6 separate regions of the Homo sapiens genome follow, and all the other regions are linked to region 1. The links are contacts of gene promoters, found by promoter capture Hi-C in blood cells and fetal thymus (Javierre and others, 2016). All regions are on one chromosome and are shown on one strand. Each heading gives the region's core, a stretch centred on a gene start or on the middle of the fragment in contact. The rest is flanking DNA. Distances are from core to core; before and after follow the strand shown.

What was found. The method cuts DNA at HindIII sites, captures the fragments that hold promoters and counts their contacts. A CHiCAGO score of 5 or more calls a contact.
Region 2: a contact is called between a fragment that was not itself captured here and the fragment with the promoter of PSMD5 in region 1, in 5 of 17 cell types (naive CD4 T cells, non-activated CD4 T cells, total CD8 T cells and 2 more). The highest score is 8.9, in naive CD4 T cells.
Region 3: a fragment that was not itself captured here is called in contact with the fragment with the promoter of PSMD5 in region 1 in 3 of 17 cell types (naive CD8 T cells, total CD4 T cells and total B cells); the score reaches 6.7 in naive CD8 T cells.
Region 4: a contact is called between a fragment that was not itself captured here and the fragment with the promoter of PSMD5 in region 1, in 1 of 17 cell types (total CD4 T cells). The highest score is 5.0, in total CD4 T cells.
Region 5: a contact is called between a fragment that was not itself captured here and the fragment with the promoter of PSMD5 in region 1, in 9 of 17 cell types (naive CD4 T cells, naive CD8 T cells, total CD4 T cells and 6 more). The highest score is 11.2, in naive CD4 T cells.
Region 6: a fragment that was not itself captured here is called in contact with the fragment with the promoter of PSMD5 in region 1 in 8 of 17 cell types (non-activated CD4 T cells, naive CD8 T cells, total CD4 T cells and 5 more); the score reaches 8.8 in non-activated CD4 T cells.

Annotation. Positions count from the first base shown.
Region 1 is chr9:120,841,243-120,844,444 of GRCh38, forward strand. It overlaps PSMD5 (proteasome 26S subunit, non-ATPase 5), which reads right to left and starts at 1,680. Exons shown (of 10, transcript NM_005047.4): 1 at 1,495-1,680. The coding sequence starts at 1,667. It also overlaps the pseudogene CUTALP. RefSeq lists enhancers at 1,301-1,830, 1,402-1,701, 1,589-1,883, 1,649-1,943, 1,902-2,251 and 1 more. The HindIII fragment of the contact is 10,742 bases long and covers 1-3,029 here.
Region 2 is chr9:121,094,643-121,097,844 of GRCh38, forward strand. CNTRL (centriolin) reads left to right here. Exons shown (of 44, transcript NM_007018.6): 5 at 246-376; 6 at 1,780-1,921. Among named protein-coding and RNA genes, the nearest start is that of CNTRL, 21 kb to the left of the region's middle. The HindIII fragment of the contact is 686 bases long and covers 1,132-1,817 here.
Region 3 is chr9:121,032,179-121,035,380 of GRCh38, forward strand. C5 (complement C5) reads right to left here. Exons shown (of 41, transcript NM_001735.3): 5 at 2,625-2,716; 6 at 1-17. Among named protein-coding and RNA genes, the nearest start is that of C5, 16 kb to the right of the region's middle. The HindIII fragment of the contact is 2,707 bases long and covers 414-3,120 here.
Region 4 is chr9:121,015,947-121,019,148 of GRCh38, forward strand. It overlaps C5 (complement C5), which reads right to left. Exons shown (of 41, transcript NM_001735.3): 13 at 1,697-1,906; 14 at 1,416-1,565; 15 at 308-437. Among named protein-coding and RNA genes, the nearest start is that of C5, 33 kb to the right of the region's middle. The HindIII fragment of the contact is 7,296 bases long and covers 1-3,202 here.
Region 5 is chr9:120,988,650-120,991,851 of GRCh38, forward strand. C5 (complement C5) reads right to left here. Exons shown (of 41, transcript NM_001735.3): 23 at 2,542-2,631; 24 at 919-1,131; 25 at 397-472. Among named protein-coding and RNA genes, the nearest start is that of C5-OT1, 37 kb to the left of the region's middle. The HindIII fragment of the contact is 2,287 bases long and covers 558-2,844 here.
Region 6 is chr9:120,971,355-120,974,556 of GRCh38, forward strand. C5 (complement C5) reads right to left here. Exons shown (of 41, transcript NM_001735.3): 31 at 576-638. Among named protein-coding and RNA genes, the nearest start is that of C5-OT1, 20 kb to the left of the region's middle. The HindIII fragment of the contact is 5,007 bases long and covers 1-3,202 here.

The DNA.
Region 1 (3,202 bases), core at 430-2,929:
AATTATAGATTGATATACCCTGCGATTTTCTTTTTCATTCAACAACACAGAGATTGGCCGGGCGCAGTGGCTCACGCCTGTAATCCCAGCACTTTGGGAGGCCGAGGCGGGCGGATCACGAGGTCCGTAGATCGAGACCATCCTGGCTAACATGGTGAAACCCCGTCTCTACTAAAAATACAAAAAATTAGCCGGGCGTGGTGGCGGGCGCCTGTAGTCCCAGGTACTCGGCAGGCTGAGGCAGGAGAATGGCGTGAATCAGGGAGGCGGAGGTTGCAGTGAGCCGAGATCGCGCCACTGCACTCCAACCTGGGAGACAGAGCGAGACTCGTCTGAAAACAAACAAACAAACAAAACAAAACAAAACAAAACACAGAGATCTTTCCATGTCCACATACATATATATACATCTACCTCAATAACTTAAATAACTGCACAGTGTTACAGAGTAATAGCGCATAATTTGGAATCCTCTGTTAACGGATATTTAGATTGTTTCTAGTGTTCTGGTGCCACACACGATATGTTATATTCTTGCATATAATGTTGTAGGGTCCTCCAGTCGCCCCCTTTCTTTCTCTGTCCTGATGGAAAATCAGAGTGCCTTGATTGCTCTCTGACCTAGCCAGCGGCAGGTTTCCCTAGCAGGCTTGACCATAAACCAGGGGCCTTGAACATTCACAGGCCTGATAAAGGTACCTAGGTTGTTGCCCAAAACACTGGAAGAAACTGGCCTCAACCCTGAGCCAAATTCCTTTAAACTCTCATCTGAACTCCATACCCTGACCCCCTCACTGCGGACATACCCAGGAACACCTTTCTCCCGGTGTCCGTCTTGACAATTTCTGCAGCCCTCTGCAGGTTTCCCCCTAAACGCTTTTGGACTGATCGCCTTGGCATTCAGTGCTTCTTTTTCTGTCATCCCAACCAGCCACATCTCGGGAAGGTTTGAAGCACTCCCTCGTGGGAACTCTCTTGCCGCTGCTTTTGGGGCGATTCCAGCCTCGGGTTCGAAAGAACAAAGTAACTGCACATTTTGTGCGCGTATACTTGCATTAAATTTTTTTAACAAGAATGACTGGATGAAAAAGCATGTGAATTTAAAATGCTGATGGTTCTTGCCACATTGCCAGGATAGGATCCTTTTAGAAGGGGAAACAAATCAAGAACCTGTACAAAGAGATGTGGAATGCTCCTTGTAAGTGGACAGCTTTGCTTTCCTCCTTTAATTTCTATTTGATGAAGAAGGCAGTGCCTCACTGCTCAGAGGCAGCGAGGCCAGGCGACGGGAGAAAACACCCTGGGGCACTCTCAGAGGCTGAACCTGAACCCCATCTCCTGCCTCTGAACCCAGGATCCTTCCTTCTCTGCAAATTTCGGCTACTTTCCACCTCCCCTGTGACTGGGAAAAGCGCTGTTCTTGCCCTCAACCACTCTCATGTCCATATTTAGGGGTGCCCCTCTCCTCGGCTCAAGCCCCCGGGGTCCTCTCACCTATGGTTCTCGTTAAGCAGGGAGAAGAGCGGGCCGAGGCGCAGCTCCGCCGCTTGCTGGCGAAGCTCGTTGAGCGGCACTGCCTGCAGCACGGAGTGAAGCGCGCGTAGCTCCTCCAGCGGCGCTTCCAGCCTCGCTACCTCTCTCAGCAGCGCCAAAGCCTGGGCTGCCATCTTGCCCCCCGACGCAGGGGCTGGCCCAGCGGCCCAGTTCCCGGGGCGCTTTCCTGAACCTCGCGAGATCTGATCACAGCCTCCTTGTCCCTGAGATGGCTATGGGGCTGCCAAGCCTCGCGAGAAGCCTCCGTTAGGGCCGTGTCAACTGTAGCCAGTGGTTGCGGCTCCCTCAGTCTGGCGTCATCTAGGTCGCTGCTCAGGGAAATGCGGAGGCCAGTAGGCTTACGTGTTTACCGCGTAGGGCAAAGCCTTGCCAAATTCCCGGCCAGCGGAGCGGCGAGGGTGGGGACTCACGGGAAGTTAAACAGCCTCGTCGGCGTCCTCGAGGCTCCAAAACCAGGCTCTAGGCGGGGACGACTGCAGCCGTTATGGAGGCCACCGCGGCTACGGCCGCGGCTGAGGCCTCCCCAGGTGGAGCGGTGGCCTGGAGGGGAATCTTGATCCTGGGCCAGCCACCTGTCAAGAGGAGGCGGAGCGTCATGCCTCTGGAAGACTGGATGAATATTCTCCAGGAGCCTGACGAAGGCGTGAGTAATAGGGACGTGCGCCGCCTTGTTGGTGTTGATCAGTCCACCAAGGAGAAGCAGCTGGTCGCAGTGGCCGTACCTGTAATCCCAGCGCTTTGGGAGGCCGCGGCGGGAGGATCGCTTGAGCCCGGGAGTTCGAGACCAGCCTGGGCAACATAGTGAGAAACCCGTCTCTACCAAAAAGAAAAAAAAAAAAAAAGGAAAAAAATTAGTGCGGTGTGGTGGCACGCACCTGTAGTCCCAGCTACTCGGGAGGCTGAAGCGGGAGGGTCCCCTAAGTCTAGGAGGTCGAGGCTTCAGTGAGCGGTGATTGTGCCACTGCACTCCAGCCTGGGCGACAGAGCAAGACCCTGCTTTCCCCTCTTGTCCTCCACTACCCTCAGGAAACCAAGAAAGACCAGCGTGGAGAGTTGGTCGCCCATCTGCTCTAAGCTGCTGTGTATTCCCCTGTAATGTAAACATCGTGAAGGTGGAGACCCAGTTAACCTTTTAGGTGGAAGGCCAGATGACAGAGGGCGGCATCTGACCCGGAAGGCCCTCTGCAACCAGGCCAAATACATCTACAGGGAACCAATGGGAAACATCTGGGGAGGACAACCCAAATAAGTATCATGCGAGCAAGGGATGGTTTGAGAACTTTAAAAATCGCTGCTGTTTTGCAACATACGAAGTTGATGGGGAGGAAGGACCCTTAAATCCTGAGTGGGTATCGAGTATTCCAAGCAACTGGAGAGAGGCTTTGTGCCTCAACAGGTCTTCAACGCCAAGGAGATGACCCATCTTTTGCAGTGCATGCCTTCCTACTTTTGGGGCAAAAGACAAAAATCTGGAAAGCTTAGAGGAAGCTAAGGACAGGATTTCCCTCATTTTTTTGTGGCAGTGCCTCAGGTGACAAAATGATAAAACCACTGCTGCTTTACAAAGACTCTAACACCCCACTTGTCTTTTAGAGATAAACGCCTTCCTGTTTTCTTGTAATCACACCCAGAATCACCACTGCCACTT
Region 2 (3,202 bases), core at 225-2,724, 250 kb after region 1:
GTCTTGAGCTTCTTAGTATATAGACAATGTTGTTGTCAACTGAAGGGCAAAGAGAGTTTGGTAGCTTGAGTAGAGTTATTACTCCTAGTCAAGGAGAGCTGCATCAAGGGATTCTCCAGGAGAGCAGTAAGGGTATATTATTTTCTGATGACTGATCAAACAGACCCTGATGCACATAAGTAAATGTTGTACTTTATGTCAAGTCATCTGTTGTGTAAAGTATTCATTCATTTGTTTCCAATTAGTATATTGAGAATTTGGAAAAATGTGTTAAACTTGAAGTACTGAATCTCAGCTATAATCTAATAGGGAAGATTGAAAAGTTGGACAAGCTGTTAAAATTACGTGAACTCAACTTATCATATAACAAAATCAGGTGAGTTATATAACAAAATCTTTAGGCAGCATTGCAGATAGCTTTGTTAGAGAGGTAGATTAATGTTATCCACATTACTGAAAGAATGATTTGACAGAAACAGAAGATATTTTTATCTTTATTCATCAATCAAATGAATGTCTGTCTCTTCACATATGGTAGGTAACTGTCTTTATGTTTTGGCATTACTGAAGTACAGAATAACATCTAGCATTATCAAAGAGATATATTTTTGAGCACCAAATTGTATCTTAATTTCATTTCTGACAGGAAGTTTTCCCAGATATTGTCTGTGATTTATTACCTTATTACATTAAGAATGTTGACATGAAGCAGAATGTTTTAACCCTGCCATTTTGACCCCCAAGATGTTCTAATCTGTTTTGATTCTGATGTTCTTTGCTTATTGCTACAAGAAATATGCTCTCAATCCTGTTTCCAATTCATAATATATATTACTGTGAGAAATAAACATACTAAAACTGACACTGGCTAAAACTTCATATAGAAAACTTGTTATAGACAAAATGATACAAGAATCAAATCTTGAAATTCTTAATATCTGCATGCTTTTCCCCCAAGTTAGACTTGGTAAATATGATGGCCAAGAAAATGACTAGCAATGGCAGAAGTTCTGATATGACAAAACTGAAATGAAAAAAAATGATTAATGAACCAAACCCTTATTATAAAATTTGTATAAAAAGTTGACTCTGATGAAAATATTTTCAGCAAAATAAAATTGAAAGTAGAGAAGCTTAGAAATATTTACCCAGTGTAGATAGAGGCTTTGAAGTATTTGTGCAGTATAGAAAATTGACCAAAGAATTAAATTGACAAATAAATTAGAAGTGACTTGGGAAAAACCTTCATCAATCAGAATTCATTAATATGTGTGATAAATGCTTTATTTAAAAGTTCTGGTTAAATTACTTATATTCCTAAATACAGTATCATCTATGGGCTCCCATATCCTGCTGGCATAGCTAATCTTTTTATGATAACTTAAGACAATAATTAGGAACATCTTTTGGACAGGAATGTAGCAGATAGGACAGGGTGCTATTGAGTTTCCCAGGTCTCCACTGGCTGTTTGCTAGTACTGTTCACAGTAGTCGGTGAGAATGCCATGGTCACATTTTTCTTTTCTATGTTATGGAGTTGCAAAGTCTAATAATAAGATTGATAGGATTCCTGGGCATAGTAATAAAAAGTTGGCAGTTTAGCTGTTCTGGTAAATTTGGCTTTAGCCACTTTTCTTTGTTCTCATTTATGAAAAGAGTTGATAAATTATCATTATGAAAAGTAATCTAACATGGAGCTAAAGCTGTTTATTCTAAAAATACAATGGAGAGACTCTATAATTGTACTCACTAAATTTTATTTTATCCTTTGCTTTCCAGCAAAATTGAAGGCATAGAAAATATGTGTAATCTGCAAAAGCTTAACCTTGCAGGAAATGAAATTGAGCATATTCCAGTATGGTTAGGGAAGAAGTTAAAATCTTTGCGAGTCCTCAATTTGAAAGGCAACAAGATATCATCGGTAAGTTATTCAAAATAGCAGGAATTTTTAGACTTGTTAAAAAATAAAAGATTAAAAATATCTAAGTTTTTTAAAAATGGGATTTCTTCTTTTAAAGATTTTGCTCCTTTGACTAAACACTAGATTCAGACATAGCCCATGATTTTCTAGATTAATTAAATACAAGCAGTCCTCATTTTGCATGGGTTCCTAGGTCAACCTAGGGTTGACCTCTTAGCATTTTTACATTTATCATTTCATGTAAGCCTCATAACATTCTTGTTAAGAAGGCAGTACAAGGATTATTTTTGTAACACTATGAGTTAGGTAGTAGCAAGTAAGGTCTAGGACAGGTTAAGTCCCTTATCTAGAGTCACATTTTGTGCCAGGATCCAGATCACTGAATGCCTAGAAGAAAGTTCTGGGTTTTTTTTTTTTTGACAGTATTAACTTCCAATTTCAAATTTACCAGTTTATTTTGATTATAATGTTAGGTGTTATAGGAGGTTGATCACTAGCTTTTCATAATAGAGCAACTTTGTTATGATTTACATATTTGGATGATGTTGTATATTTTTCTCTGGAATATAGTTTATGATTTTCTTATGGTATTTATTCACAGCTAGGTATTTAATAAGCATTTGCTTAGTAAATTTGTTAATTTATTTAAATTTGTATTAAAATTGGGAAAATTGTGCCATAATTTAATGAACATCAGTTGTAGAATAGAAAATGAAAGATGTGACTTCAAAGATGGGCCTCTATAGAATTGCCTTCCATGACCTTGGAGAATTCTTTAATCCCTCTAAAACCACTGTTTGGGGAAAACAATCCCTATACTGCCTCCTTTACAGGGGTATTATGGGGGCTCAGATGAAATGATAGATGTGAAAATGCTTTAAAAAAAACTTTAAAACACTAAATAAGTCTAAAGCTATATTCTTTAAGCCTTCACCAGTGGAGGCCAATAATAATAAGCAATATTCATTTAATGCCATGTTGTTAACAATACCTATGCTTTCTAATTTCATCCTGTGACAGTCAAGAGCCTCAGAGCCCAAGCCCAACCCCATGTTGTACAGCATCACCTTGGGGCTGTTGATGCTATGGGATGATGGGAAGAGGTAGCCATAGATCTAAAATTTGCCATAAATATTCCTGAAGTAGTTGATCCTTAGATAGTGTCAACTTAGTGTCAGCTGTGCAATAGGAAAATCAATAAATATTTATTTCTAATTTTGTATGATGTCCTCACCCCATTGATATTTGACATTGGCATTATGAAGAGTGCTGCACATTCAC
Region 3 (3,202 bases), core at 517-3,016, 190 kb after region 1:
TCGTCCACATACCATATCTGTGGAAGCAAAATATTTAAAATTATAGATGTCATCAAATGTTTTTAATTCACTCAGAGGAGATCTAATAAATTCCTGTTTTAAAGAGGGAAGAATACACAAAGATATATAAAACCTAAGTAATATATTTTATTTGTGACTGATTTTTAAGCAATAAATAATTGAGCATTTTTAGGATAATAGATAATAGATATTGTTTAGTAACCAGTTTTTCATATATTGTATTATTTTTCCTGGTATTTTATCTTAATACAGTCATTAGTTTTGATTTGAAGAACTTATTATTTCTGAGAATTTATTTAATCTTGGAGCCTAATTATGCTAACATAATACTAAAATCCAAAATACAGTACAAAATCCATAATAACGTCTCTAGAAACATATAATACAAGACAAGCTTATACAGATGATAAAATTTACACCTCACAAAAATGAATTTATGGTTGGAAACAAAGCATGGTTTTTAAAAGATGAAAATGACCTGGCTTTAATTAATAACCTTTATTCAAAAACATATACTAGGCCAGGTATAGTGGCTCATGCCTATAATCCCAGCACTTTGGGAGGCCAAGGCAGGAGGATCGCTTGAGCCCAGGAGTTCGAGACCAGCCCAGGCAACATGATGAAACCCCATCTCTACAAAAAAATACAAAAATTAGTCTGGTGTGGTGGTGCATGCTTGTAGTCCCAGCTACTTAGGAGGCTGAGGTGGGAGAATTGCTTGAGCCCGCGAGATCAAGGCTGTGGTGAGCTGAGATCACACCACTGCACTCCAGCCTGGGTGACAGAGTGAGACTCTGTTTCAAAAAAACTATGGGTGTGTGTGTGTGTGTGTGTGTGTGTATGTATGTATATATGTGTGTATACACACATATATATACACACACACACACATATATATACTGAGCCTACCTTGCAGATTGGCTATGAAGTCCACAAATGTTAATAGTATTATAATAATGATTATTACCATCATCATCAATTCAATGAATATTTATCAAGGGCCTATTATGTTGAACTGCTGGTGTGCAATACAGACAAGGCCCACCTTAAAGAGTTTATAAGCTAGTGGGGAATAAAAATGCCAGCAAGCAAGTAAAGAAATGATTATGACATTGAGATAAGTGTCATGAAGAAAATAAACAAGATGCTGAGATAGGGAGTAAAACAAAGCAAGAGATTACATTACATCATGCATCCAGGAATAGCCTTTTTGTAGTAGCTTCTACTCTGGGTCATAACAATGAAAAGAAGCCAGGCTTATGAAGAGCCAGGTGAAGCCCATTCCAAGTAGAGGGGATGACATGTGCAAAGGCACGGAGGTAGGAAAGCACTGGACATGCCAGACCATGGCTAGCACATAATTTGCCATGGGGCAAGTGGCACAAGATGAAGTTGGAGAAATGATAGCAGTAATAAAATAATAGGTTTAATTCTGCACTATGGAACATGTAGTATTTTCAAGAATGTACACAATTTTTAAATTATCCAAGTTATTTAAAACCTCCAAATTCAATTTAAATTTTTAGAAAAATTTCAGTCAGCGAATTAACTGAGGGCAGAGGAAAAATGACCATAAAAAGATGTTGTTCTAAAATTCTAGTGCAGCCATGTATAGATGCACTTGTCTTATTCATTCTGCTCTATTATAAATTTCTTTCTTTCTTTTCTTCCCTCCTTCCTTCCTCCCTCCCCTCCCTCTTTCTTTCCTTCCTTCCTTCCTTCCTTCTTCTTTCTATCTTAGTTGGAGTTTTGCTCCTGTTGCCCAACATGGAGTGCAGTGGCATGATCTTGGCTCACTTTAACCCTCACCTCCCAGATTCAAGCGATTCTCCTGCCTCAGCCTCCCGAGTAGCTGGGATTACAGGTGCCTGCCACCACGCCTGGCTTTTTTTGTATTTTTGATAGAGACGGGGTTTCACCATGTTGGCCAGGCTGGTCTCAAATTCCTGACCTCAGGTGATCCACCGACATTGGCCTCCCAAAGCGTTGGGATTACAGGCATGAGCCACCGCACCTGGCCTATTACAAATTTCTTGAAAGCAGGGACTGTGGATTATTTATTTTGTATCTCTCCCTCTTATTGTGATTTGCACATACCAAGAATGTGTTCATTGAATATTTATTACATTGAACCCTGTTTAAACTTTTTCTTAAATCCTTTCATGTGAGGCCAAATAATAGATATAGCTCTGAGAACTCCTTCCCTCTTGGACTTTGCCTTCTGGTAGTTTATCCAGGCAAAAACTACAGACGACCCTATTTTATAGCAACCAGAGCAAGGAACAAGACCACACCAGCCTTTTAAACTGACAATCTATTAGATACTTTGAGGGGTAGGAGTTGATGTTTTTTATGACAAAAAAACCTGGGTACTATTTTTTCCTCTTCCCAATTTTTATTTCTATATGTAAAAAGAATGGCTGAGAAGTATTGGAAATTTTTTGCCAAGAACAGAGCTTAAGTTCTTGCTAGAACTTCAAAAGATTTTGCATATCCACCTATGTGACACCCTTTGTTAACATTAGGTGGCCCCCTTTAACTGGTTACCTGCTTCTTCACCAAAAGTTCCGTATGTGGTTTTATTAACAACTATTTTTACATACCTAGGATTAGACGGAATCTTGAAGTCAGGAAAAGAGATAATTCCAATATGATCAATTTCTTCTACCATGTCAACTTCTGATCCTTCAGGATCCTGTAAATAAAAACAAACACCCTCAAAGGCCAGAAACTACATTTTAAAAAATTTAACTGATTATACAATCTTTGATGTACAAAATATTTATAGATCAAATATTTGAAGACAAATACCCATGTCTTCAAATTAAATATGAAGGATGAAGATCTGTTAAATGTTATAGAAGGGAAATATGGTTCATTTCAGCCATTTCCCTTCTTCTTTTTCCAATCTTCCCCATCTCTCCTCATTATCTTGAAGAGACTCAACTCTCGTTGTACATCTAAAAGATGAAGTGTAACAACACGTAAAAACAACAACAAACAAACAAACAAACAAACAATGATGTTTTTGATAAACTAAATGTGAATTTTGTTGGCTTTATAAACACCAGAATCTAATTTTTATATATGTTCATTTAAAGCTTTCAAAAGCAAATATTCTATGAATTATATTTTTTAGCCAGATGTTTTATAAATGTATAGTATGGGCATTTTTCAGCTT
Region 4 (3,202 bases), core at 401-2,900, 170 kb after region 1:
GTGCAAAATAGCATAATGCCACTCAAGAACTCCACTTGGTTCTGTAGAGCTTAAACATAACGTAAGGCACAGCAGGGTAAGAGCTAGTTGGAGAGAGCCAGGGCGAAGATCATGGAAGGTTTTGAGTACTACACTAAAGAATTTGTACTTTATCTTGAAGGCCAGTGAAACATTTTATACAGGTGAGTTATGTAGTCTTGGCATTCTAAGATCAGGGTACAGAATATTTGGGAAGAAGGATAAAAATGAGATCTGGGGGGCAAATGATCAATGGGATTTTCAGTAATAAACATGCTGAGCATTTTACCATTTTCTTGGGAGTCATCTGCATTTGCATTAGTGAGGAAGGTAAGTCCAGCTAGGTGGAACACATTGGCATTGTTGAGGCCACCACCTGCCCCACAGCCCAGATCACTCTTCTCTAAGAATTGAAATACCTGTCCAGAAAGGCAAAATGTTGAGCACATTGAGATGTATAAATCATTCCTCTAAAGATCTAAAAGGTACTAATTGTTACATGGTTATCACAAACCAGTGAAATACACAGATGATATTTTTCAAATGATCAAAGACAAAATTTCCCAACTTTGTTTCTAAGTTTGTCCTTTTGTATTTATAAATACATAACTATTCAAAGTTAAATCAAGAACTAAGTCTTAAACAAATAGCTTTGATGAGGAGTTTCTTAGAAACTGATATATAGTGTTTTGTACATAGAATGAATGCTGCAATCAATATAATGTTCCAAATAAATAAATAAATAGGTATGAATGCATGAAGGACTGAATTAACATAGAAATTAATTTTAAGTTGCTTTAAAAGCACAACTTTGTGCATTTTGGTGGGGAGGTCCCTAGGTTCTAAATGGCTGAAGACTTGTTTGGACAGGCTTATTCGTTCTCCGAGTATTTTTTAATTTTACAGTTTCTCAGTCCTTCCTTCCTTGTTCAAAGACATTCAAGCCTCGAAAATAATAGCTGAACATAATAAGATAAATAGGAACTTATGAGAATTGAATGATTTTGAGATTCTTCTGTGCTATGGATTTCAATGAGAATTTAAAAAAAATCCAAATGTTACCTATACAGGTCTTTCCTGTGCTGCTACTAGCTACTATAACTGCCATCAACACCCTACCCTAAACCTCCAAAGTATTCTGATAGTAATTTTTCCTCCATGAATGTAATTGCTACCATGATCATATATTCTTAAAGTGCTTACATTTACATTTGAAAAACAAAAGAGGATTGACCTGTGCTTTGGGAGCTGACAGGAGGATGGTTTACCTTCCTAAAAATGAGTATGTTGAGTAGATTACAGAAAAGCAGGCCTAGTCTTCCCTTAGTTCTTCCTCCATATCCTAGCCTGGTGGCCACACTTCATGCAACACTGCAGCGAGACATGCATTACTTAACTCTTTCCAAGGGCTTTTTGGCTCCTCTTTGGACTCCATACACAGCACTGTCCACTGCTGCTAATGCCACCCAGGAATCCATTCCAGTTGCCATATTAAGAGACACAGTTTGGCCTGGAGAATATGCATCTGCATCAGGAGACAGATGAACCTAAAAGTTCATTTGAAAAAGAAAAGAAAAGATCATTTGTATGAGACAAGACTTTTCAGAAGCAGCTAAAACTTTGGCAGCCTCCTTCATTGAAAAGAAAATTCAATTGTGACTTATAATTTGTGGCTTACCTGGAGCTGGTTGCCACATTTTTCTTCAATATTTAACCAGACTGAATCAGACACTAATTCTGCTGTCTGTTCTCCTGTGACGATGTAATAGACCAGAAGTCGGGATGAAGGAACCATGTTCTGTGTTACTGGAATGTTTATACTTTGATAAGATGCATCTGAAAATTTCTCCCTCGTGCCAAAGTGGATAATTTTGCCCTTGGATAAAATCTAAAAATAAACAGCAGCAGCAACAATAAGTAAAAAATAAACAAACAAAAACAAAACCTGTGCTTTAGGATGCAGCCTGGAGCTGGAGCAGAAATTATGTTAAAGAAAAATAAAGTTAGGCTGGGCACAGTGGCTCACACCTGTAATCCTAGCACTTTGGGAGGCCGAGGTGGGCCGATCACTTGAGGCCAGGAGTTCAAGACCAGCCTGGCCAACATAGTGAAACACCATCTCTACTAAAAATACAAAAGTTAGCCAGGCATGGTGGTGCATGACTGTAATCACACCTACTCGGGAGGCTGAGGCATGAGAATTACTGGAGCCCGAGAGGTGAAGTTTGCAGTGAGCTGAGATCATGCCACTGCACTCCAGCCTGTGCAACAGAGCAAGACTCTGTCTCAAAAAAAAAAAAAAAAAAAAAAAAAGACATACCAATTTTGGCTGGGCACGGTGGCTCACACCTGTAATCCCAGAAGTTTGGGAGGCCAAGGCAGGCAGATCACCTGAGGTCAGGAGTTTGAGACCTGCCTGGCCAACATGGTGAAACCCTGGCTCTACTAAAAATAAAAAAATTAGCCGGGCACTGTGGTGGGCATATGTAATCCCAGCTACTCGGAAGGCTGAGGCAGGAGAATTGCTTGAACTTGGGAGGCAGAGGTTGCAGTGAGTCGAAATCATGCCACTGCACTCCAGCTTGGGGGACAGAGTGAGACTCCACCAAAAAGAAAGGAAGGAAGGAAGGAAGGAAGGAAGGAAGGAAGGAAGGCAAGAAAGAAGGGAGGGAGGGAGGGAGGGAAAGAAAGAAAGAAGGAAGGAAGGAAGGAAAGAAGGGAGGGAGGGAGGGAAAGAAAGAAAGAAAAGAAAGAAAGAAAGAAGGAAGGAAGGAAGGAAAGGAAGGAAGGAAGGAAGGAAGGAAGGAAGGAAGGAAGGAAGGAAGGAAGGAAGGAAGAAAGAGTGAGTTAACGTTTATGGGCCTACTATGTGCCAGGAACTTTAACATGTATTTAACTCCTTTCATTCTCACAATACATCAATAAGAGGAATATTATTCTCCTCATTTAAGAAACTGAGGCTCAGAAACTAAAAGTCATACTGATTTTAATTCAAAATCACACAACTAGTAAATTAGAGAGCTAAAATTTGAACCCAAAAACTGTTCAAAGTCATCACACTGTCACTAAAACCCCTTTTGTTTCACCGATTAAAAAAAAATAGATGAATAAGTGGAGTGCATCTTATTTGGGGATTTAAAGCCAGGGTTTAGATTCTAAATTGAAGGTTTAAGATTAAAAAAAA
Region 5 (3,202 bases), core at 451-2,950, 150 kb after region 1:
ACTCTGGGTAAGATGGGAAGCTCCTAAATGGTTTTGAGTGGCATGATCTAACATATGTTTTAACAGGGTCACTTCAGTTGCTGTGTTGAGTATATACTGAAGAGGATCAAGGGCTGAACCCAGAAGACTAAGGGAGACTAGTGTAAGAATCCAGGTGGGAGAGGAAGGTGTCTTGGAACAGGATAGTGTGGTGGAGGTGGTGAGAAGTAGTCAAATTAAGGATATATTTTGAATCCATATCTGCTGGATCAGATGTGAACGGTAAGAGAAAGAGAGGAGTGAAGGATGACGAGGCTTTTAGCCTGAGCAACTGGAGGAATGGAGTTTCCATTATGGTTATTATTCTTTAGTTAATTAACCACTATATGAAAATGCAACTCAAAATCTTCTACTTACCAAGTGCTAGCACTTCCACCCTTCCACACACTGTAAGAGTAGTCAGCATTTCTGTAGGACATAATGCTCAACATCCCTAAGAAGCACAAGAAAAAGAACACGGTGCTTAACAGACCTCCGTTTCTACTCAAAGAACACTTTATCAGGCCCTGAGAATGGTAAGCTTCCTTTGGTGTTGGGCAGCAAGCATATGCTCTGTGGCCAGCATTGAACTTCTCAAAGGAAGTATATGAATTGCTCGAATTGGGAATTATCAAGTAGAACATTCTGATCTCATTCGAAAAGGAAGGAAGTGTTCTGTAGTTTGGAATGCAGGTGCCTTGCCTCTCATTCAGGCATTTTGGTAAGTTGAGCCAAAATGCTACAGAAATAATATTTATTTATATAGTAGAGTCCATCTCATGATTTTTTTGCTAAAATTCTCTTACAAAGTTTTCTATAATTCACAACTTAAATATTAGTTTAATAAAAATATTAGTTTAGAATCACCCAATTTTTATGTGAAATACTTTTTTTTTTTACCTTCTTTTAATTTTTTCTTCAGTTTCTGCTTTTCAATTAATGGGTCAGAATGAAAAATGTTCCAATGATTTCCTGTTTCCAGGTAGTGAAAAACATAGAATACTGGGACAACGCTCATCAGCTCCGCCTCTGCACTCCCTTTGGGGAGGTGGGTTAGGATATTGATGCCTTCCTGACTTAGAACTGCAGACAAGATCTCACCTACAAGCAGTCCTGAAACAAAAAAGATCAAAGTAGACACATTGCTTTTTATTAACTTCTAACAGTATGTTCTCAAGAGAGAAGAACAACCATCTAGAGATGGTTCTTCCCTTTTTATCTAGGCAGTTGACTTGCTTCTCAGAAACGGGGTGAGAAAAAAAGATCCGGTTAGGAACATGAATTTGAAAGAAACAAAAAAAAAAAAGACTTTAAAAATCACTAAAATATGGTGGTAGGTAATGTAATACAGTGGACTGATTGCTGCAAGAGAACATGGCAAATTAGTTGCCATTCAACCTGTTAGCTTTAGACATTATAAACCATATTTACCAATCCCTTCCAGGAAGCAAAGCAAAGAGCCTGAACAGGGAGTGCTGACATGACTGTCTATAATTCACTGTGCAACCTTGGACATGCCACTTTCTTTTATATCCAACAGCAGGGTTGCACATGATCAAAAAGATCCTTTCCAGTACTAACATTTTGTGATTCTAGGGTTTTATCTGAGATAAAATGTAGTCAGGACATTCTATCATTCGGTAATATGTTATTGAATTGTAAAGCCTGGAGACTAAGGAAAACCTAGTCACTTGTGCAAATATCACTTCTGCAAATGTATGCGAGGGGAGGAGAATCCCTGCTATGGTTTGAATGTATATGTCTCTCCAAAATTCATACACTGAAGCCTAATCACCAAGGTGATAGTATTAGAAGGTGGGGCTTTTTGAGAGGTGATTAGGTTATGATGGCTCCACCCTAATGAGTGGGATTAATAATCTTATAGACGAGGTAAGAGGAAGTTCTTCACCCCTTTTTGCCCTTTTGCCTTTCCACTTTCTGCCACAGGAGGATACAGCAACATATATCCTCATGGAAACAGAGAGCAGCCCTTGCCAAACACCCAATCTCTTGATGCCTTGATCTTGGACTTCCCAGCCTCCAGAACTGTGAGAAATAAATTTGTATTATTTATAAATTTTGTTATTTTGTTATGGCAGCATAAATGGACTAAGACAACCCTTCTGGGACCAGTACTTCAGCAGAGCAGTGCTGTTCTCGCTAGGCCATGTGCAGGCCATAGGCCTTCTCTGGAGCGGGACTGGCCACTAAGACCATGGAAAGTTCTTTAAGTCTAGAAGCAACTGGACCCCCATTTTAGAGACATCTTTGAGCCAATGACAGTCCCTACCTTCCATTGGAGGAGAATGCATCTCCATGTAAATCAGGCCGTTGGAAGAAGATAGTGGGAAAAGTGATTAAAGGTTTGAAAGTGGGGGTGGGTAGGGGTGGAGCACTCCTAAAGGTAGATTTGTGTGTGCTACTGAACACGGAAGTGGAGAAACAGAATAATCATGAGGATATTTGATTTTTGTTTGAAGCACCAAGTGAAATGAGAAATAAAAATGGCATTTGTTAATTTACCTTTTACACTCAAAATCCTTTTGATTTCTGTTTTGGGGACCAAATCTAAGGGTATCCTGTATGGGAACTCCTTTCGTCTGCTAATGGTACCTGTAATTTAGAAAATTTGGATTTATACAGAGTTTCCAGGGGAAGACTGTTTGCAGATTATTTATAATGTATCTACTTCCAAAGAATATTTCAAAATAAAAGACTTATAATTAGACTATTAAAATTTTAAAAGAAAGTTAAAAATCATCAAGGACTTTAATCAAACCCTAGGCTTGTATAATCTTATTAAATAAAGCATTAAATTTGGCTGTAAGCTTCCTGGTCATTATAAGATGTGAAATAAATAGGTTATATAAATCTTATTCACCAGCAAAATATAGCATGCCAGCTTGCCCAAAGACAGAAAATTGTTCCTGGAACTGAAAGCTAAGAATAACTAACATGTAATTTCTTAATCAACTATATATTGAACATTAGCTCCACAGGGAAGTATGATCTGAAATTCTTTCCACCTTCCCTTCCCAGTCTAGTTTTGATACTTTTTAATCTATGGGCAAAACAACAGAGTTTTAGCATACTGGTATCAGATAATTTTTCTACTGTGATCACTGGTTTATGTCCAAAAAAAGGTAACATTGATCATTCTACTGATAGAGTACCAAGCATGCTA
Region 6 (3,202 bases), core at 381-2,880, 130 kb after region 1:
ATACACATATATAATCATAAAATTATATATCTCTATAAATATATATAATTTCTATAAGTATACAGAATGTATACATATAAGGATTAAATTTTTTTGTGTGTGTGAGACGGAGTCTTGCTCTGTTGCCAGGCTGCAGTGCAGTTGTGCCATCTCGGCTCACTGCAACCTCTGCCTCCCAGGTTCAAGTGATTCTCCTGCCTCAGCCTCTGAGTAGCTGGGAATACAGGCGCACGCCACCATGCCCGGCTAATTTTTTGTATTTTTAGTACAGACGGGGTTTCACCGTGTTAGCCAGGGTGGTCTTGATCTCCTGACCTCGTGGTCTGCCCGCCTAGGCCTCCCAAAGTGCTGGGATTAAAGGCGTGAGCCACCATGCCTGACCAACATTGTTATTTTCAAAAAAATTGTGAGGATAGTTACAAAGATTGCTAGAAAGATTTACATAAGTGAATCCCACTTTAGTCATGGTTACCCAAGCCCAGATTTCTGTGACTTTGTGGCAAAGCTCCTAACTTTTATGTTACCTAGTACAAATGGACACATAACTCGTTATTGGATATCAATTAAATACTTACATGTACTGTAGCCAAGCCACTGCCAAATCCTGTACTGACAATGAGGTCATCATTGAGAAGCACCTGGAAAGATAATAGAGAAACAAACCATGCTTTCTTTCATCATTTGATAGGGAGGGAGGATAGAGCTATGAAAAGTGGGTTGACATGTACCAGCCTCCTCTCTCAGAGCTCTTCTGAGAGTAACTGGATGAGACACTGAAAATCCTATGCCCATGGCAGGTGCTAAACAAGGCTGGTATTTCCCCTTTCCCTTCTACATGTAAATAAGATGTCTGAGATCTCCTGAGTGAACCAACAAAAGCAACATGTCAGAGGTCACTTCTGGTTACATTTTCATTTACATATGGCTATGGTAAATCTGGATCTTCATCTCCTTTTGCCAACTGAATAAATTCCTTTCTGTGCCTAGCTCAGGAATCAGCATCCTGTGTGCCAATGGAGATCGTTTTCATTAGAACCCAGAGCAGGGAACCTCCACATAACTTGAAAGCGGGTGCATCTATCTTTGGTCCTCTCTGAGCTCCTCCTTTGCACCCCTTTTCCATCTCTTGATGATTTATCTTTTCCACTTGTCACCGCCTTTGTTTGCAGAAACCCCTGGTACCCCACCCCAAACCACTAGCACCCCACTCAAGCCTGCCAAATCCTTAGTTGCTGCTGCTCTTCTTCCCACTCTGCTAGGAGGAAACTGAAGACATAAACGGAGTTAAGTCATTCTCCTCTCCAGAGAAACTCTGTCATCCAAATGCTCCCTAATTTGTGGAAAGTACAGGAGAGATAATTTTGAGCCCGAGGGGTTGGCACTTCCTTTACTCCAAGCCTCCCCTTTCCTTTGCTTAGCACAATAATGCAAGATGGATTGGGCATATGTTAAAGTTTCTCAATCCTTCCTTCAAATTTTAGTAAATGTAGGAAAGTAGGTCAACATTCTTGTTCTCCCTGATAGAATATAGCAGCATTTGTTGGAAAACAGGTGTCTTGAGATACTGCATGTGAAAAGCATGCATGACAAATAAGTTTGGGAAATGCTGTGCACTGTGCCCTGCCTCTGCCCCTTTTCACACCCAGAGTCACCACACTTAATCACATACATGTTACAGAACAGGGGAATTCTGGATTAAAGAACTTGTTTAACTTAATTTAAATTAATTTGTTTAACTTAATTAATGCACACTCAACCACCTAACACTCTTTCATGGAACACATTTCAGGAAATGCTGGAGTAGAAAATTCCACACTGGATAATAACAGCCCAGGTTTTACATGGAAGCAGCATCCTGGGCTGGGGTTTAAATTTTGTTAGGATGACAAGAGGCCTCTTACAGCATTATCCCTATAGAGAAGAATAATTTCAGCTACCTCAGGTAGCTGGAAGGTCAAGAGATCCTTCTTAGAGCTTAGACTCAGAACATGAATCTCCGGTGAACTCTAAATGATCCCAGGGAAAGGAGACATATTCCCAAACTAGGGACCACAAGCACAAATGCCTGCAGAGGCCCGGGCACAAAGCAGGTATGAACATAAATGCACATGCATACGTCCTGTGACTGGTGGGGACTGCAGTAAATTGTAGAAGCCATGCCAATGCCTGGTGCTTTGCTTTCAGGTCTTTTGGTTTATCAAGGGAAGTTGGGAATCAGGTTTTTATTTGAAATATCTGGATCCTTAAATGTTGGCATATATCTATGTCTATGTTTATATCCATATTCTTTTTTTTCAGTATGGGCCACCAGTTTGCAATTTTTGCATTAAATTTTATTTCTCTGCTGGGCATGGTGGCTCACACCTGTAATCCCAGCACTTTGGGAGGCCAAGGTGGGTGGATCACCAGAGGTCAGGAGTTTGAGACCAGCCTGGCCAAATGGTGAAACCCCATATCTACCAAAAATACAAAAAATGAGCCAGGTGTGGTGGCAGGCGCCTATAATCCCGCCTGCTTTGGAGGCTGAGGCAGGAGAATTGCTTGAACCCAGGAGGTTGCAGTGAGCCGAGGTTGCGCCATTGCACTCCAGCCTGGGCAACAAGAGCGAAACTCCATCTCAAAAAAAAAAAATTATTTCTCATGCTTGTTTACTTTTAACAAACACCAATTTGTGAAGGATGTCAACAATGAGGATTATTTCCAATTACTGTACATTTAAATATACTTTAAAATAATGCAAACACAGTAATTAGAAAAATATGTATCAGCAGCTATATGTGGGCAGCTAATATTAATATAGAACCCAGTTTTTCCAACATGTCTTGTTCTTTGTGAAATTTTCATAAGCCATCAAAGTTACCACCTTTAAAAATCCAGCAGTAGCAAAGGACATGGGGCAAGGAGCTGGGGACCCTAAAGGCCAACTCCAACCTGGCCACAGTCTGCATGTATGACCAGGGCCAGAAGGGACCACCAGCAGCCTCCCAGACATGCCTTCCCTCCTACGCTCACTGTACTGCTCTGTGCGCTGTTATCTATGTCTGGAATGTTCTTCCTTTTTCTTCACTTGGCTAACTCATTCTGATTTTTTCAGATTTAACCCACACATCTGGACACATCTGACAAACTCCCTCCATCTTTCAGCCAGGATCAGGAGGGCCCCTCTGTACTTCCATGTACCTATCAAGACTCTTATTTTTCA